2 separate regions of the Homo sapiens genome follow, and region 2 is linked to region 1. The links are contacts of gene promoters, found by promoter capture Hi-C in human tissues and cell types (Jung and others, 2019). All regions are on one chromosome and are shown on one strand. The core of a region is centred on a gene start or on the middle of the fragment in contact, and the rest is flanking DNA. Distances in the headings are between cores, read along the strand shown. Region 1 holds the start of SREBF2 (sterol regulatory element binding transcription factor 2). Region 2 holds the start of RRP7A (ribosomal RNA processing 7 homolog A).

What was found. The method cuts DNA at HindIII sites, captures the fragments that hold promoters and counts their contacts. A contact is called where the count stands out against the background at its distance.
Region 2: the fragment with the promoter of RRP7A here is called in contact with the fragment with the promoter of SREBF2 in region 1 in 3 of the 25 tissues and cell types used here (dorsolateral prefrontal cortex, lymphoblastoid cells and spleen).

The regions. Positions count from the first base shown.
Region 1 is chr22:41,830,588-41,835,591 of GRCh38, reverse strand. SREBF2 (sterol regulatory element binding transcription factor 2) reads right to left here and starts at 2,487. Exons shown (of 19, transcript NM_004599.4): 1 at 2,234-2,487. The coding sequence starts at 2,321. It overlaps CCDC134 (coiled-coil domain containing 134), which reads right to left. Exons shown (of 7, transcript NM_024821.5): 7 at 3,428-5,004. SREBF2-AS1 (SREBF2 antisense RNA 1) reads left to right here and starts at 927. Exons shown (of 2, transcript NR_157279.2): 1 at 927-1,149; 2 at 1,612-5,004. RefSeq lists enhancers at 1-69, 70-571, 2,362-3,018, 2,624-3,133, 3,960-4,499 and 1 more and silencers at 1,794-2,183, 2,244-2,583. The HindIII fragment of the contact is 7,421 bases long and covers 1,291-5,004 here.
Region 2 is chr22:42,518,546-42,523,549 of GRCh38, reverse strand. RRP7A (ribosomal RNA processing 7 homolog A) reads left to right here and starts at 3,754. Exons shown (of 7, transcript NM_015703.5): 1 at 3,754-3,836. The coding sequence starts at 3,764. LOC124900479 (a long non-coding RNA gene) reads right to left here. Exons shown (of 3, transcript XR_007068117.1): 1 at 4,197-5,004. RefSeq lists enhancers at 2,553-2,847, 3,373-3,432 and silencers at 3,613-3,672, 3,693-3,862, 3,873-4,002. The HindIII fragment of the contact is 27,172 bases long and covers 1-5,004 here.

The sequences.
Region 1 (5,004 bases), core at 1,238-3,737:
ATGCCTGTAATCTCAGCACTTTAGGAGGCCAAGGTGGGCGGATCACCTGAGGTTGGGAGTTGGAGACCAGCCCGACCAACATGGAGAAACCCTGTCTCTACTAAAAATACAAAATTAGCCGGGCGTGGTGGCGCATGCCTGTAATCCCAGCTACTCGGGAGGCTGAGACAGGAGAATCGCCTGAACTCGGGAGGTGGAGGTTGCGGTGAGCCGAGATCGCGCCATTGCACTCCAGCCTGGGCAACAATAGCGAAACTCCATCTCAAAAAAAAAAAAAAAAAATTTAGGTGGCTCACACCTGTAATCCTAGCACTTTGGGAGGCCAAGGCAGGAGGATCATTTGAGCCTAAGAGTTTGTGCTATGATTGTGCCACTGCATTCCAGCCTGGGTGACAGAATGAGACCCTGTCTCAAAAAATAACTAAATAAATAAAAATTTAAATTTAAAAATCAGATAAACAAAATAAGACAAATAGGAATTGATCATGGAATAGGAATGCAAAATGCACATGAATTTCTTTCTGTGCCCTTGCAGGTAGGCAGCTATAGACATACAGTACTTTCTACTGGCTGTGTAATCTTCAGTAAATTAATGAACCACCCTGGGCCTCACTTTCAGGATCAGTGAGAGGGAGATGACAAGTATAACAGTTCTCTCTACCTGACAGGGTTGTTAGGAAGATTGAGAACATTAACGTGTATAACTGTTTAACACCGTCTGGCACAGAAGTTCTCAAAACATGTTAGCTGCCCTTGCTATGTTCCCAACCCCCACCTACCCCATCCCCCATTTGTTAACCCATTTCTGTATTTAGAAGCACTTAGCAAAGAGTCTGTGGTTAGAACTGGGGCTTCAATTAAGGGTCTTATCACACTGCCCACATGACCAAAATGGAAATCAAGGACAAACCAAGGGGAGAAATATTACAAAAGCAAAATGGGAAAATGGCAAACAGATCCTTTTCAATTAGCTGCTGCATTTATCTCTTCCCCCAAAAGAGAATCTTCTGCTGCTTCTGCTTCTTCATCTGCACAACGGGGATGTAGCCATCATACATGCCTGCAAGGCTGTAGTGAGATCCTGGACATGAAAGCATTCTGAAAACTGAAAAGTACAATGCACCTGTGTTTCTGCCTAAGCTCTCTAAGGTGAGTGGCCTTAGATAAGTCAACATCTCCTGGCCTCGGCTTCTTTAATTACCGTATTAAAATAGAGGTAATAAGAGTATCTCACAGGATTGTTGTGAGGAAGAAGTGAAATAATACAAAGCATTTTGGGGCCTAAACATAAGAGTGCAACTATCCAGTTAATAAGATTACTAGCCTAGTCAACTGGACTCTTTCTTGAAAGGAGGGGTATAAAAAAACCAATACTGGCCAAGGAACTGCAAGAACTAGGCTCTAACCAGCTGGGTGACCTTGAGCAAGCCGCTGACCCTCTCCAAATCGTTGTTCCCGTGGTCGCAAAATTAGTATTTTAAGAGTGGATCCCTGGGCTCCTACCAGCTCTTCCACTCCGCTGTTAAGGCGCTGGAACAAAGGCCACCCGCTCCCCAGCCCGTACCCGAGGGGCCACAACTCAAAATTTCTTCTGCTCAATTCCCCTTGCAGCGTGACAGCAGGAGCGCCCGGGTCTCCATCCCGGAGAGATGTGTCCACACTCCGCCGCCACTGCTCTCTTCATCAGCAACTTGCTTCTGCAGTCGCTGCCCAAAGTTTCGCGGAGCACCCGGCGACCTGGCCGTCGGTCAATCCTGAGAAGCCCAGGGATTCGGGGCGCGGAGACTGGGGGCTGGGCCCCGGGAATCCCAAAGACGTCCCCGCGGCCAGGAAGGGAGTGACAGGTGCGACGCGCGGTCGCGGGCGGCGGGAGAGCGGACCACGGAAACCGCGTGTGGGCGCGCGAGGGAGGCGGCGGCCACGCGCTCTCCTTAGGCCGCTCCCTGAGACGCCCCCGCGACGTCCCTAGCCCCGCGCTCTGGAACCCGCGACCCTCGCGCCGCTTTCGGCCCCGCGGCGCCCCAGATCCCACGGCCTCCCGGAGCGGCGCAGCTGGGTCGGGCTCACGCTCGCAGCGCCGGAAGGGTTGAGGACCGCCGGGGGCACCGTGCGCACGGGGTTCTTCCCGCGCGAACCGGGGCTGTCGGGGGGTGGGCGCACGCGCACCCGGGCGCGCCGCCGTAACCCCTTCCTCCCCGCGCGGCCCCCGCACTCCCACCCACCCACCACTCACCGTCGATGTCTCCCAGGGTCAGCTCGTCGCCCAGCTCCGTGAGGGTCTCCATGGTCTCCAGACCACCCAGCTCGCCGCTGTCGTCCATCGCCCGGCTCAGCGCAGAAGCCCCCCCTGCCGTCCCGCTCAGGGAGACGCGGGGGCGGTGCCGTCGCCACCGCCCATGACACCCGACAACCCCCGCCCGGCACCGCCTCACCGACGGGTGCCACCCGCCGCCATGTTTGCGTTGCGCCCGGGCGCCGCACAGAAAGGGCGGGGCGGGATTCCCCCGCCCCAGCCCGCGCCCCCTGCGGCCCCGCCTCCAGGCCGCGCGCCCCCCTGTTTGTTGTCAATGGGACCAGGCTCATCTCAGCCAATGGGCGAGCGAAGCGGTGCGTGGGGTGATGGCGCGTCATCGATCAGCAGCTCAGATTTGCATAGTGAGGTCCCTCCCCCCGCGGCCTCGGAGCGAATGCCTGGAGTAGCCGTCCGGTCATCATCTTAACCTTCTCCGCCTTGTTTAAAGGAGCCGCTGCCTTCTCCGTTGGATCTGCGCCACACGCAAGTCCGTCCACTGGCCTGGGAGTGAAGGGTTAACAGGCCACCCTCCACCTGCGACCGCTGGCCGCCTCCAGGCCTGGCTGGGAGCACATTACGTCATCTTCCCAGCTGCCTACCCCCGCCCTGCCCGCCTGAGAAAGCCAGCGGAGTCAAACCTGGACCCCAGCGCTCGGGACGGGAGTCCGGGTCATCCAAGTCCCGCTTCTCCCAGCCTCCTTACAAAGGCGGGCACGGAGGCTTGACAAGGTTGCAGATTGTCCCAGGGCGGTCAGGATTTTACGTCTTCTGCTTTGCACCCGCCGTGACCTCGCGCTTACTCCAGTGGTCCTCAATCTCTGGCACCTCGGAACCACTGAGGACCTGAAAACCACGCCAGTGCCCAGGCCCACCGACGGCCTCCTGAGAGGGGGGCCCCGGGCACGAGTTTTTTGAAAAAGTTCCACCGGGATTCTGAAGTGCAGCCCACCCACTCCTTCAAGCACCTCACTGCCCCATCTTGCAGCTGGTCGTGTTGTAAACTTCTAGGAATTTATCCAAAGGAATAAAAATTACAAGTGCTTAAAGAAGTGCTGTAACTAGGAAGAAGTGAGAATAAGGAAATGAATATGTAAATTACATCCACACGATGGAATACCATGGGATCATTAAAAATTACGCACACAAATGTATATTTATTAGCAAGAAAAGGCGTTCACAATATATTGATAAAAGGGAAAAGTTGAAGTTTCCTGCCAGTTTGTGAGAGGCAGCTGTTGCTTAGTGATCAATAATTAAGAACACACAGGCTGTGTGGAGGCAGACACATGGATCCACTAATTCACTGTGACCTTGGGTTAATTGTTCTAAGCCTCAGTTTAGTCATCTCTAAAATGGGGATAAAATAGCATCCCTCATAGCTGTGGTTAAGTGAGATTATTTGCACATTCAATTGACAATATTTATTGAACATCTCTGTGGCAGGGAAACAAATGGTTCCTGCCCTCTGAGAGCTTCCAGTCTAGCAAAAAAAAAAATCAGAAATCCCACACCCGTATTAAACATAAAAATAAATTACAGATGATGGTACAAGTGATCAAGGAAAGGTAATGGATGTGATGAAACTAACAAGGGCCCTGACTTGTGCTGTCAAGAAGCCTCTGAAGAAGTGACATTTAAGATGAAACCTAAAATTATGAGAGAACTGCAGCTGTTACAGCCAAAGGGGAAATGATGACATGGACAAAGGCCTCGAGGCAGGAGGAGCTGCTGGCAGCCAGCTCTCGGCATAAGCTTTGGCATACAGTAAGTGCCTTGCATACTGCTGTATTGCAATTGAAAAAATAAGGATCTGGCCAGGCGCGGTGGCTCACACCGGTAATTCCAGCACTTTAGGAGGCCGAGGTGTGCAGATCATTTGAGGTCAGGAGTTGGAGACCAGCCTGACCAACATGGTGAAACCCCGTCTCTACTAAAAATACAAAAATTAGCCGGGTGTGGTGGCGCATGCCTGTAATCCCAGCTAACCGGTAGGAGAACTGCCGGAACCTGGGAGATAGAGGCTGCAGTGAGCTGAGATCATGTCGCTGCACTCCAGCCTGGGAGACAGAGCAAGACTCTGTCTCAAAAAAAAGAAAGAAAAAATACAAAGAGAGTCCGGGCAAGGTGGCTCACGCCTGTAATCCCAGCACTTTGGGAGGCTGAGGTGGGCGGATTGCCTGAGGTCGGGAGTTCGAGACCAGCTTGGCCAGCTTGGTGAAACCCCGTCTCTACTAAAAATACAAAAATTAGCCAGGCGTGATGGTGCATGCCTGTAATCCCAGCTACTCAGGAAGCTGAGGCAGGAGACTTGCTTGAACCCGGGAGGCAGAAGTTACGGTGAGCAGAGATCGCGCCATTGCACTCCAGCCTGGGCAACAGGAGACTGCGTCTCAAAAAAAAAAAAAAAAAAAAAAGAAAAGAAAAGAAAAAATAAGGATCTGTGTGCTCACCTGAAGGTTAAAAACGATGGAAGACCCAACAGCTGGCTGTCAGACATAGTTACAGGAGTAGTGAGATTTGGGGTGAATTTTACTTTTGGAGTGAATTTTACTTTCTTTTTGGCATTTCAGTATTGCTTAAATTACGTTTTATAATGAACGTGTATAACTAATGAGAAATAGATAGTGTCTTATTTTTTGGGAAAGCAAGACAACATTGTTCTCGTCATTGTTCACACACAGGGAGGCTGGTATAGAATACACCAGTCTCAC
Region 2 (5,004 bases), core at 2,505-5,004, 690 kb before region 1:
TGGTGGCGCACGCCTGTAGTCCCAGCTACTCGGGAGGCTGAGGCAGGAGAATCACTTGAACCCGGGAGGTGGAGGCTGCAGCAAGCCAAGATCGCCCACTGCACACCAGCCCGGGAGACAGTGTGAGACTTCATCTCAAAAAAAACATACTTCAACATGTCTCTTGGGGAGCACAATTCAACCTCTATATTCGGTAAGACTCTCTTAGACAGGGCAGGGCAACCTGGCCCTGCACTCCTTGGCCATCCTCTGCTGTCACCCCCAGACCTCAGGCACGGCGGCCCCTCGCTCTCCCCCGTCTTTTCTCTCCGGGCCTCTGAAGTCACCAGTTCTCCATGCCCAGCCGTGGCCTGTGGGAGGGAGCTGGGGGGGTGAGCTGGAGCTGCCACTTAGCGGCAGAGTCGCAAACTCACCGTTCCTAATGAAGCCCGTCGCTTCTCCCTCCTCCTCCTCCCAGCAAGCAGGAAAAAAAAAAAAAGTTGACTACTGAGACCACATGCTAGGAAATCCATGGGTGGGTGCTCTAGTTGACAAGTCCCACTTGAGCCCAGCCATATTCGGCCATTCTTGCACTGCTATGAAGAAATACCTGAGACTGGGGAATTTATAAAGCCAAGACGTTGAATTGGTTCTGCAGGCTGTACGGGAAGCATGGCTGCATCTGCTTCTGGGGAGGCCTCAGGGAGCTTTGACTCATGGTGGAAGGCGAAGTGTGAGGGGTCACTTCACATGGTGAAAGCCTGACCAACAAAGTGGGGGGTGAAGCAGCCACCCATTTTTAAACAAACAGATCTCGCGAGAACTCGCGATCGCAAAGACGCAAAGACGGCGCCAAGCCATGAGGCCCCCATGATCCAAACACTTCCCACCAGGCCCCACCTCTAGCACTGGGGATTACAATTTAACATGCGATTTGGGCGGAGACAAATACTCAAACTCTATCACCAGCCATCCCTGCTGAGATGCCGGACTCATCTGCTGAGATGCTGCGATGTGAGTGAAGTGACTTGGAACCTTTAGTGCAGCCCATATGCCAGCTGAATACCATCAAATGCCCTCAGTCAGTGCCACAGGGAGAAACAAAATCTCCTAGCAGAGCATTGCCCAAATTCCTGACCCATGAAATACATGGGCAGTGGTAATTATAAAGAAAGTGGAGTTAATTGATCGAGTGGCATCAGTGGGCTGAAGGAAGAAAACAACAGGCCTCAGGACAGCCATTTATCAACTTATAGCCCAAGGTGAAAATCAGGAGGGGCTTCCAGAGACGTGTTTAAAGACAGGTCACATTGTGCTGATAAAGGCCTAGAACCTGATGAGAACTGTGGAGTTTGAATCAGGGCAGATGAACGGCTGTGCTAAGTGCTGTGCTCCAGTCAAGGAGCACAGAAGTGAAGGAGCGGACACTGTCACCTAGGGCAGGGAACGTCTGGATAGATGGGCTCAAGAGTCTTGAATTCTAGGCTGGGTGCAGTGGCTCACACCTGTAATCTCAGCACTTTGGGAGGCCGAGGTGGGCAGATCATCTGAGGTCAGGAGATCAAGACCAGCCTGGCCAACATGGTAAACCCTGTCTCTACTAAAAATACAAAAAAGTAGCTGGGTGTGGTGGCACATGCCTGTAATCCCAGCTACTTGGGAGGCTGAGGCAGGAGAATTGCTTGAACCCGGGAGGTGGAGGTTGCAGTAAGCTGAGATGGCAGCACTGCACTCCAGCCTGGGTGTCAGCAGAGTGAGACTCCGTCTCAAAAAAAAAAAAAAAAAAAAAAAAAAAAGGCTTATGCCTGTAATCCCAGCACTTTGGGAAGCCGAGGTGGGCGGATCACAAGGCCAAGAGATCGAGACTATCCTGGCCAATATGGCGAAGCTCTGTGTCTATCAAAAATAAGAAATTTAGCTGGTCATGGTGGTGCACACCTGTAATCCCAGCTACTCAGGAGGCTGATGCAGGAGAATTGCTTGAACCCAGGAGGCGGAGGTTGCAGTGAGCGGAGATCGCGCCACTGCACTCCAGCCTGGCGACACAGCGAGACTCCATCTCAAAAAAAAAAAAAAAAAAGTGATGTTGTGTGGCCAGTCCTGATATCCATCGAGATGGCTCCTTGAAGCGTGGAAGCAATACATGAGAGGGAGATAACAGAACGATGGTGGCAGGGCACTGAGAAGGAGCCAAAGGCCTCGGGGAGGGGGATGTGCAGGCACAGATTTATTATGCAACATCTGAGAAGCCAGATGACCGTATTTCTGGAGGGTTCACCAGAGACTGCTTTGACTAGTGGGGGGTCTAGGCATCAATGGGCAATCGGCATGGCCGTCCTCTGAGGCCAGGGTAGAAGAGGGCAAATAGGACTGGAGCCGGGCTCGGAAAGGTCAGCAGGAGATAGGATTCCAGAGAGCAGAGGTTCGGTTGATGTGACTGTCAGAACAGGAGCAAGGCCAGAGTGGCTGCCAGGGATCCTGGGCGCACAGGAGTCTCTGGTGAATGCTAGTAGACCACGGTATTCCCAGGGGCCACGGAAGCCCCAACACTGCTTGACTGCGCTAAGCAAAGAAAGATCAAAAACAAAAAACGAGCGAACAGGACAGTAATGGCAGCTGCTGATGGAAAATCCCAACCCCTCATCCAGTTTCCAGGCCTAAGCTAGGCCTCAGAACCAGAGGTCACTGACTGAAAGGGAGGCTGGGTCCCCTCCAGACCACAAATATTTGCAGTAGTAGGCTCCTAATCTTTCCCCAAAGGGGCCGACAGCATTTCCAAGAAGCAACTGTACACTGGGAAAAGAGAAATAGTAGATACATCAAGGGCTGGCGGGTACACAGTCTGAGAGGCCCTTTGGAGTCCAGAAAAGTGGAGTCCTTGGACTTCATTTCTCCCCTATCTACACTTGCTCCCTTGGCGATCACACCCTCTCATAACTTTCTTTTTTTTTCTCTTTCTTTTTTTTTTGAGACAGAGTCTCGCTCTGTTGCCCAGGCTGGATTGCAGTGGGGCGATCTTGGCTAACTGCAATCTCCGCCTCCTGGGTTCAAGCGATTCTCCTGCCTCAGCCTCCCGAGTAGCTGGAATTACAGGCATGCACTACCACGCCCGGCTACTTTTTGTACCTAGTAGACACGGGGTTTCACCATGTTGGCCAGGCTGGTCTGGAACTCCTGACCTCAAGTGATCCGCCCCCCTCGGCCTCCCAAATTGCTGGGATTACAGGCATGAATCACCGCACCCGGCTCCTCTCGTAACTGTCAATAACCTATCCATGGCCAGTCCCGTGTGTATTGCTCCAGGCCTGACATCTCTGATGTTCAGTCTGTTCAGTCTCATATCTAAGTGCCCACCTGACATGTCCCCTGAGTGGCCTAATGGGCATCTCACCACGGCTCACAGAGAACTGATCTACTCCATTTTCACCCCCAAGCAGGCCCCTCTCCTGCAGTCTTCCCATCTCAGTCAATGGCAACACCATCCTCTTAGTTGCTCAGACTGAAAACCTAGCAGCCATCCTGGATTTCTCTCACACTGCCTATTCAACGTGTGAATGCATGAGTGGAAAGCTGAGTTCGCACTCGTGACTGGCCGGGGTCAACTCTGACATTCGCTCCCACTTTCGCGCGCTGATTTATCTCTGAGCGGATGAAGGTTGGGCCATGGCGGGCGGGGCCGGGGAGGCGGGCTTGGAGTGAGGGGGCGGGGCAGGCGCCACGAAAACGCGCTCGCGCCGGCGCCGAACCGCAACTCCCGGCGGCCCCCGCGCTCCCGGGTGGCAAGATGGTGGCGCGCAGGAGGAAGTGCGCCGCGCGGGACCCGGAGGACCGTATCCCCAGCCCACTGGGCTACGCAGGTGAGGGGCTCCGGGACGCGAGACCGGGGGCGGTCAGGCATCGCCGGGAGGTGTTTGGGGGTTGGCGACGGCCGGGGGTCCCCAGGAGCGGCCGCACGGTTGGGTGTGAGCCCCGGTGGCCCGTGGCCCCAGGCTCCGCAGGTCTTGAGGCTCCGGGGTCCCGAGGACCCAGGCGGCGCCCTTCTGCCTGCTCACTCTCCCGGGGCGAGCCCAACTTGGTCCACGCTTCCCTTGGGTGAGCCCGCCTCTGTCCACACTCTCACCCAGGACAAACCCATTTCCGTCCACACCCGCTCGTCCAGGTGAGCCCATCCCCTTCTCATCGCCTCTGCTCCTAGTCCATCCCCCATCAGCTCTTACCTGGGCTGTTATAGGCCCTCCTACTCGGTTGCCCTCCTTCTCCTCTTGCCCCTGCTTCTGTTCTCCACCCACGTGCCAGAATGTTCTTTTAAGGACATTTAGATTCGATCATGTCTGCCGCGCCCACGATAGGCGCCACACCTACTGCATTCCCTCCAGTGGCTTTATCAGGTAGCTTCTAAAACAAAAACCAGACTTCTTAACCTGTGTGGGCCACGTGGTCTGGCTGGTGCCGACCTAAAGCTCTTTCTGTTCCTCTGAGGGAACATGCTTTTTCCCCCCTCTGGGTTTTTGCACGTGCTGTGCCGGTTTGTTGCACAGTGGCGTTCTGGCCTGAGCTTTAATGTTGCTTCCTCAAAGAGGCCATCCGTGATGGCCTATGGAAAGAAGACCTCTGCCACCCCATCACCCTGTAATGTTTCTTTCACAATTGATACAAGTTTGCTGTATGCTTGTTAATTGTCTTCTCCGTTATTGCAACTGAGCTTCCTGAGTTCAGGGACCGCAGCTCTACGCCAACCGGTACTGTGACGGAGGTGTGAGAAAAATAGAAGCAGTTCCTAGCTTTATGAGGATTACAGTCATGGGTGTGCCAGCGATTAACCAAAGAATCTCATCAATATAGCCTCCAGACTGTTAAGAGAAGCTGTGAAGGCACAGGCAGTGGGATCTGAGCTGGCAGGAGGGGCGGAGGTGATGCTAAGGCTCTCCTGAGGAAGCGAGGTTTGAGCTAAACCTGAGGTGAGCGGGAGGGAAGAGGGTGACACGCCAGGTAGAGAGGCCAGCATGTGTGAGGCCCTGGTGTACC